Linked DNA regions of Homo sapiens: region 1 is linked to region 2. Evidence: promoter capture Hi-C in human tissues and cell types (Jung and others, 2019). All regions are on one chromosome and are shown on one strand. The core of a region is centred on a gene start or on the middle of the fragment in contact, and the rest is flanking DNA. Distances in the headings are between cores, read along the strand shown. Region 1 has its middle 17 kb from the start of KRT76. Region 2 holds the start of KRT84 (keratin 84).

Region 1 (3,739 bases), core at 1,104-3,603, 380 kb after region 2:
TCTATTTCTAATTCACAAAAAGACCTGAGAGGTCCAGAAGACTTCAGAACACCAGTTTAACATCATGAGTTTCAGCATGAGAAGAATCTAGCGCTAGAAAACCTTCACTTGTGCCTCACTGGTCTTCAGGTCAGTTAAGTCATGTTGTGGTGAAACCCCATGAGTCAAATCCTGGCTCCCCACCTCCTAGTTACATTACCTCAGGTAAGTTGTTTAACCCACTATGCCTTGAATTCCACCTATCAGATGAAAATTTGCTGTGAGGATTAAATTATTTTAGAACATGTCCTGGTACATAACAAGCACTCAGTGCACATTAGCTTTTAACTAGTAGTGTCATCCTTATGTACAATGATAGAAAATCTTCTCTGGACCATCAACCACACAACACACCCTCTCATCAGCGGGGTCTTTGTTCTCCAAAGTTTGCATGTGGGTGCTGTTGCCACATTTGTTCAGTGCTTTCCTGTTTTAAAAAGGCAAGTGAGTACAAGGGTGTGTGTGTCTATGTGTGTGGGAGGTAAGGCAAGGGTTACAGTCAGAAGGCTCAGGGCATCGGCCAAGTGTGCAGAGGGAAACTGAGCAGACTGATTCAGCCCTATATTAAAAACCATGCCAATTCTAACTAAACCATTTCAGCTTTGATTTTACAAAGCTGAAAATAAACTAAAAATGCCTCAAGTCCTAGGTTTTCTCTGTACTTCTATTACAAAGCATTATTGTTGGCCAGCTAAGACCCTGCATCTTAATTACCAGTTTTGCAGGGCAAAACATGCATGAAATGAATTTATGGGAATTCAAATGTGGACTATTTGGCCTTGACTGTGAGTAACCCCAGCTTTAATAAGGCAAAACGCCTGGCTTGAAACAACCAAATAATTAGTCTAAACAGTGGGAGTGAGAAAGGAGCTCTAATACATACATTTTGTTAATTGCTGTCCCCTGTTGCCAGCAAAGGTGAATTGGAAGAGGTCAACCGGAGCCCCCTGGAGGCAAGGAGGACAGTTAGGAGTTTGTCTCTGTCAGCCAGGGATGAGTTAGCAAGAGCCATTACTTCAGTGAACTGGGACACCAGAGTTGGACCTCAGAAATTCAGCCAGTGGGAGAAAGAACATCTGGAATAGACAGAGAAGGCAGGAGGGGGCCTGGGAAGCCTGGCCTAAGTAGCAGCAATCCCTACTCCAGCCCTAGCTTGGCTTTCCTGAATGTCCCAAGCAAGCATTTACCATTGATCAAATGGCAGCATGCCAGAGAAGCCCACCCCCTCCAGAATCCCTGCAGAATGTTCTCATGAGTTCTATATGTGTGGTGGGCTGCCTGCCATCCCTGGGCCTTCACCTCCAGGGTCTTCAAGGATCCCAGGGTCTTCTCCATGCTCCCAGGGCACCAGCTTTTACCAAAAAAAAAGGTAACCTCCCCATCCAAATCCCAGTCAACCAGCCAACTGACCAGCTCCCTCTGGCCCTGTCTCAGTTCAAATTCCCAAAAACAGACTCAGATGAAGATTTGTGTACAGGAAGTTTATTGGAGAGGATCAATATGTAAGGAAGTGAATGAAGCAGGATTGGGGATTGGGGAAAAGTTAAACTCCTATGTAGTTGGGTTGGCTGCAACAAAGGTCTCAGCAAATCCCACCAAGCACTAGACCTGCCAATGGGGAGAGATCATAGCCTAGGGCAAGGTGTTCCTGGAAAGGCACTCTTCTAAGAGCAATCAGGAGCCACAGCAGCTGGAGAAGTGAGTGCTAGGTTCTCAAAAGGGTGAGAGCCCACCACCCATCCACTACAGACCCCACCTAGGGGGCTGATCCTGCTTCTGTTTCTCTCCCAGCCTTGCCTCACTCTGTCATCTCATCTACTACCACAGACATAATTTTGGAGGTGGCCTCTTCCCACAACTTGGCCCCACTTCCCTGCAATCCTGTAAGCCCCTCTGCTGTCCCTCCTGCTAAGCTAGGTTATCAGGGGAAACACCCCACATAATTCAATGTAGGTTCTTTTCTATTTTCCCTAAGTGTAGGCTGGTCTGAGAAATAAAGGGAAAGAGTACAAAAGAGATAAATTTTAAAGCTGGGTGTCTGGGGGAGACATCACATGTTGGCAGGTTCCATGATGCCCCCCAGGCCACAAAACCAGCAAGTTTTTATTAGTGATTTTCAAAGGGGAGGGAGTATACGAATAGGGTGTGGGTCACAGAGATCACATGCTTCACAAGGCAATAAAATATCACAAGGCAAATGGGGGCAGAGCAAGATCACAGAACCAGGGCAAAATTAAAATTGCTAATGAAGTTTCGGGCACATATTGTCATTGATAACATCTTATCAGGAGACAAGGTTTGAAAGCAAAAAACTAGCCTGACTAAAATTTACTAGGCAGGAATTTCCTCGTCCTAATAGGCCTGGGAGCGCTACAGGAGACCAGGGCTTATTTCATCCCTTATCTACAACTGTATAAGACAGACATTCCCAGAGCAGCCATTTTAGAGACCTCCCCCTAGGAACGCATTCTCTTTCTCAGGGCTGTTTCTTGCTAAGAAAAAGAATTCAGCGATATTTCTCCTATTCGCTTTTGTAAGAAGAGAAATATGGCTCTGTTCCGCCCAGCTCTCGGGCAGTCAGATTTAATGGTTATCTCCCTTGTTCCCTGAACATCTCTGTTATCCTGTTCTTTTTGCAAGGGGCCCAGATTTCATATTCTTTAAACACACATGCTTTACGAACAATTTGTTCAGTTAACACAATTATCACAGGGTCCTGAGACAACATACATCCTCAGTTTACGAAGATGACAGTATTAAGAGATTAAAGACAGGCATAGGAAATCACAAGAGTATTGATTAGGGAAGTGATAAATGTCCATGAAATCTTCACAACTTTATGCTCAGAGATTGCAGTAAAGACAGGCGTAAGAAATTATAAAAGTATTAATTTGGGGAACTAATAAATGTCCATGAAATAGTCACGATTTATGTTCTTCTGCCATGGCTTCAGTCAGTCCCTCCATTTGGGGTCCCTGACTTCCCACAACACTAGGTTCTCTCTTTGTCACCCCACCCCAACTATTCTCAGCATCCCCAACAGGGCACTGATTCTGGCACAATTGTGAATGGTTGCTGGATTCTTGAGTGACTAAGGTGCTGTTGGAGTCCTTGCCTCAGGCAAGCAAGAAGACAGGAGCAGCAGCTTCTTCCCAATGTGGAACCACAGAATGGGACTAGGATATATGTAGGACTGGCTTCTAGGTGACTTGCCAGGAGCTATGGTGGTACAAGGATCAGGCTCCCCTGAAGAAGGTGGACTAGACAACACCAGGGCCCCTGGCAAAGAAAAGCAAGACAGGGTGGAGACTGAAAGCTCAGGTTGTAGAGGACAGTCAGTGGGCCCCCTTTAGGGAATTTTCTCCAGTCCTGTCAACACTCAGCATATGATATTAGTATAAAATCCTCTCCATTCATATCATCCTTCCCCAGTAGGTTCTGCTTTGCCTTTGTCTCTTTAGGGGGATCCAGATCTAAATAGACCATCCAGACATAGTCTAAACAATGCAATGTGCCCTGGACAGCCTCTGCTAAAATTGGGATTAAAAGAAATCATTATCTTTTTCTGCTCAAAATGTTGATAGGTCCTTTGATCTCAGACCTACCACTAGGCTGATCATACAGTAGGTAGCCAATAAAATGTGTCTTTCTTTCATCCAGTCATGATACCATGGCAACAGTTAGATGAAATATTTATCTG
Region 2 (4,209 bases), core at 461-2,960:
AGCAGAAGCTGGAAGGGCAGGTTGTGACTCCCTCCTTGTGCTCGGCTAGGCCTAGTTACCAATATGGGGTTTTGAACCATAGCACTTCAGTACCATTCCCCTATCCAGTCTCTAAGAAAGCTGTACACTGGTACATCAGGAAGTTGGAAGGGTTGATTCTATTTAAGCTCTGGTTTGCCTATATCTGAAAACTGATGCCAGGCATCCCTGGCAGAGAATGGGGAGCAGAGTAAACTACATTTGGGGTGGGATATGGTACTGGGAGGTAGGAATTCTCAGATTGTAAGTCCTATCCAACATCGCAGATATTCCATTGGCTATGTGTAGAGCTGGAAGAGAACTTACAGACCCTTTACCCCAGCCCCTCATTTTAGAGAGGAAGAACCCAAAACTTACAGAGGTTATCCTTCATTCTCAGACATAACCATTCCATCTCCACATAGACATGGTGTGTGGGATGTCAGTTCTTTTGGGTTATCCACATCACTGTTCCCACTCATCTGCCTGGAAGCCAGTGACTACCAGTGGTCATTCCCTGCAATTTCCCTGAATCTAGGCAACTTGGCCGAATTTTGATACCCCATGTGGGGGTATGAATTCTTCTTCTTTTTTTAATTACTCAACTCCATTCTCTACTTTTCTAAGCCTGAATAGATGAGGCCACTCAGCCTCAGAAACTATGAAAACTTCATAAGGAACAAAAGGATCTCAAAGAATAAAACCTCTTAAGCATATACCAGCCAACACCTGGCTAAAGTCCCAGTGTTTCCAGCCTGTTTCAGAGACATTTCTAAGTGACCAGATGCAACATCTTAGTTTGTCGAGATGCCCTCGAGTTTGGCTGGATGCTCCTCTGTCCTCCAGAAGATATCAACACTGTCGGAATCTATCCCACCATGCAGCTCGTCCTCTGGCTTGGCCTTGCTCTGCAGCAGAGCAACCCATAAAGCATACCACAATGCCTGAGGTAGGCACTTGAAAGATCTGAGGTCAAGGTCAAGTCCCCAGAACCGGGCCAGTTCTTTTTAAGGGAAAGAGCACTCTAGCGCATTTTGGCTGTAATATTCCTAGACCCAGAGATTCAGCTATCATAGGTACCTTGTCAATGAAGGAGGCAAACTTGTTGTTGAGGGTCTTGATTTGCTCCTTCTCATCCTTCTTCACCCTCTGGGCATTGGGGTCAATCTCCAGGTTGAGGGGGGTCAGTAGGCTCTTGTTCACAGTCACAGCTGTGATAGATGGGGCTGCTGGGACTCCAACCCCTCCAACTCTGTAACCAAAGCCAGGGCCACCAAAGCCATAGCCAATGCCACTGCCAGCTCCAAAGCCCAGACCAACACAGCTGTCAGCCCTAGGCCCCAGACCAACACCTCTCCCATCACCAAAACCCATCCCACAGCCAGCACCAAAGCGGACTCCACAGTGGATGGGCCGAGAGCCTACAGCTGCTATCCGGGGTGAGTACGATCCAAAGGTGATGACACTCCGACTACCAAAGCTGCCAAGGCCCCGGAATCCAGGCCCACTCCAACAGGAGACAGAGTTGGCCCGGAAGCGATTCAGGTTCTGTGGTGTCATTGCTGAACAAGAGCTGAAGTTGCCCACCCGGTGACCAGAGCTGACTCGGTAGGAGCGGCAAGACATGATGGCTTCCTGGTTGGGAGCAAAAGAGCAAGTGTAGAATGGGTGAGCTGGAGCTGGGAGTCCCTCTGAGGCCAGTGGAACCCTTGCACCCCTTTTATGTGTGTGGTGATCTGAGGCTTGGCCCCATAAAAATGAAAAAATCCATTTGCAGGCATTTATGAGCTTGGGTAGTTAGCAGAAACTCTGCATGCCTATAACCTCCTTGACAATGAGTTAACTCAGACACACCTAGTCTCATTGGGATGAGGGCTGTAACAGCAAACCAATAAACATTAAAAACACATAAACATATAAACATTATAGTCTTTTTTTTCCCTATAAGTCTACCACAATTGCCATTAAGGGGACATTAATTTGCTTTGGTCATAAATGCAATAGGTTTTTTCACTGTGAGTGTGGCTAACCACCAGAAAGTTAGGATGGCGACAGCTCCAGCAAGAGGCTCACATGGGATGCATCCATGAAGATATAACCCCCTAAAGAGGTGGGAGTGTGTGCACATCTCCAAGTAAGAAGTGATATGGAGAAAATACAGTTTGTTGCATTTCTGCAAATCAATTAAATCATCAAAAAACCTTCTGCCATGTTTTATCCAATATGGCTGTTTAGTATACAAGAGTTGAATCTACAGTAAAGCTCATTTGGGCTAGTGTAGACACATCTGTGATTTGAGACACTCAGAGATATTCATTCATTCTACAGTTTTAGAGTGCCTGCTATGTATCCAGCAGTGTGCTTGCTGCTGAGGGTACAGAGATTACAAAGACAGTCTCTATCTTCATGGTAGTAGGGGAAGATTTATCTTAAATTTTTTTTTTTTTTTTAGAGACATGATCTAGTTGCCCAGGCTGGTCTTGAACTCCTGGGCTCAAGTGATCCTCCCGCCTCCGCCTCCCAGATAGCTGGGACTACAGGCATCCACCACCATGCCCAGCAGAACATTTATCTTGAGGATTTCCAGCAGTCAACACTTTGTGGCATGATTTGAGGCCAAAGCATTGGAAAGTTTCTGTATAGAAAGCTAACTACATGATTTTTAGCCCCCAAATATACCATAGGTGTGATTTATGGGCCTGTCCATTTAGGTTCCTTGAATTATTGATGAATCTTTGGTTAGGATAGAGAGACACAAAGCAATATACATCTGGATAGAAAAGGAAAAGTTCTCAGCAGCTGAATATTATCATTGTTAGCAATATTGCAGCTCTTTTAGGACCCTGAGCCAGGCTGGTGTTTACCTTTTCTATTCTAGTGCATCCTTTGCCCAGGGGAACTCATGTTTGACTGGACGCTTGAGATTCTTTGGGATGCTTGCAATTCCACTTGGAAGGGGATGTATGCTTTTGACCAGAAGCATCCAGCTCATTTGTGCGGTATTTTCTTTTTCCAGCTATCAGCTGTATGTCTAAGGGGGAAATGAAGCAGAAAAACAATAAGAAGTGCATACTTCTCGTCAAGACCACCAGTGGCCTCCATGTTAAATTCAATGGTCTGTCCTCAGTTCTCACTTTCTTCACATAGCTGACCATGCCCTTTCTCTTGAAACACGCTCTTCTTTTGATTTTCGGACACTACACTCTCTCGATTTCTTGCCACACTCTTTTCAGTCTTCTAAGCCAGTTCCTCCTCATATCCCCAACCTCTAGACACTGCAGAGTCCCTGGCTCAATCCTTGGGTATCTATTCTCTTCTTTAGACTCATTGCCTTGGTGATATTATACAGACTCAGGACTTTAAATACCATCTGTTCATTCATGACTGCCAAGGCACAACTCTATCCCAGACCTCCCTACCCCTAAACGCCACACATATATTTTAACCAACATCTCTATTTGGATATCAGATAGGCATCTCAAACTTAATACAGTTGTCCCTTGGTATCCCCAGGTAGTTGGTTCCAGGACCCCTTGTGGATACCAAAATCCATGGATGTTCGTCGAGCCTCCGATATACAATGGTGTAGTATTTGCATGTAACCCACACACATCCTTCTGTATACTTGAAATCATCACTGGATTATAATACCTAATACAATGTAAATGCTATGTAAATAGTTGTTATACTTTATTGACAAGAAAAAAGTCCGTACTTGTTCAGCACAGATGCAATTTTTTTAAGAGTTTCAATCTGCAGTTGGTTGAATCCACAAAGGTGGGAGCCACAGATACAGAGGGATGACTTTATGACCAAAACTGTTCTCCTAATTGTTCCTGCTAAATATGTTCCACTTGCCAACATCACTATCTCTGCAATAGTTCATGCCAGAAATCTTGGAGTCATCCTTTTGTCCTCTGTTTTTTATTTCCCTTTTCCCACATTCAATTCATTGGCAAATTCTCCCTTCAAAATATATCCAGACTCCTACTCCTTCTCACCATCCTGCTGCTCCCATGCTGGCCCAGGCCCATCTCTTCCCACAGGATCTTCTGAACTACACTCCCAGCTGGTCTCCCAGCTTCCTCCCTTGCCCCTTCAGGCTTTTCTTAGCAGCACAGAGTGATCCTTTAAAAACATGTCAGATCATGCCATTTCCATGCCGAAACTCCTCCCATGGTTTCCCACCCA

The links. The method cuts DNA at HindIII sites, captures the fragments that hold promoters and counts their contacts. A contact is called where the count stands out against the background at its distance.
Region 1: a fragment that was not itself captured here is called in contact with the fragment with the promoter of KRT84 in region 2 in 2 of the 25 tissues and cell types used here (heart left ventricle and neural progenitor cells).

Annotation. Positions count from the first base shown.
Region 1 is chr12:52,758,939-52,762,677 of GRCh38, forward strand. No RefSeq gene overlaps it. Among named protein-coding and RNA genes, the nearest start is that of KRT76, 17 kb to the right of the region's middle. The HindIII fragment of the contact is 9,267 bases long and covers 1-3,739 here.
Region 2 is chr12:52,383,942-52,388,150 of GRCh38, forward strand. KRT84 (keratin 84) reads right to left here and starts at 1,711. Exons shown (of 9, transcript NM_033045.4): 1 at 1,099-1,711. The coding sequence starts at 1,644. The HindIII fragment of the contact is 12,479 bases long and covers 1-4,209 here.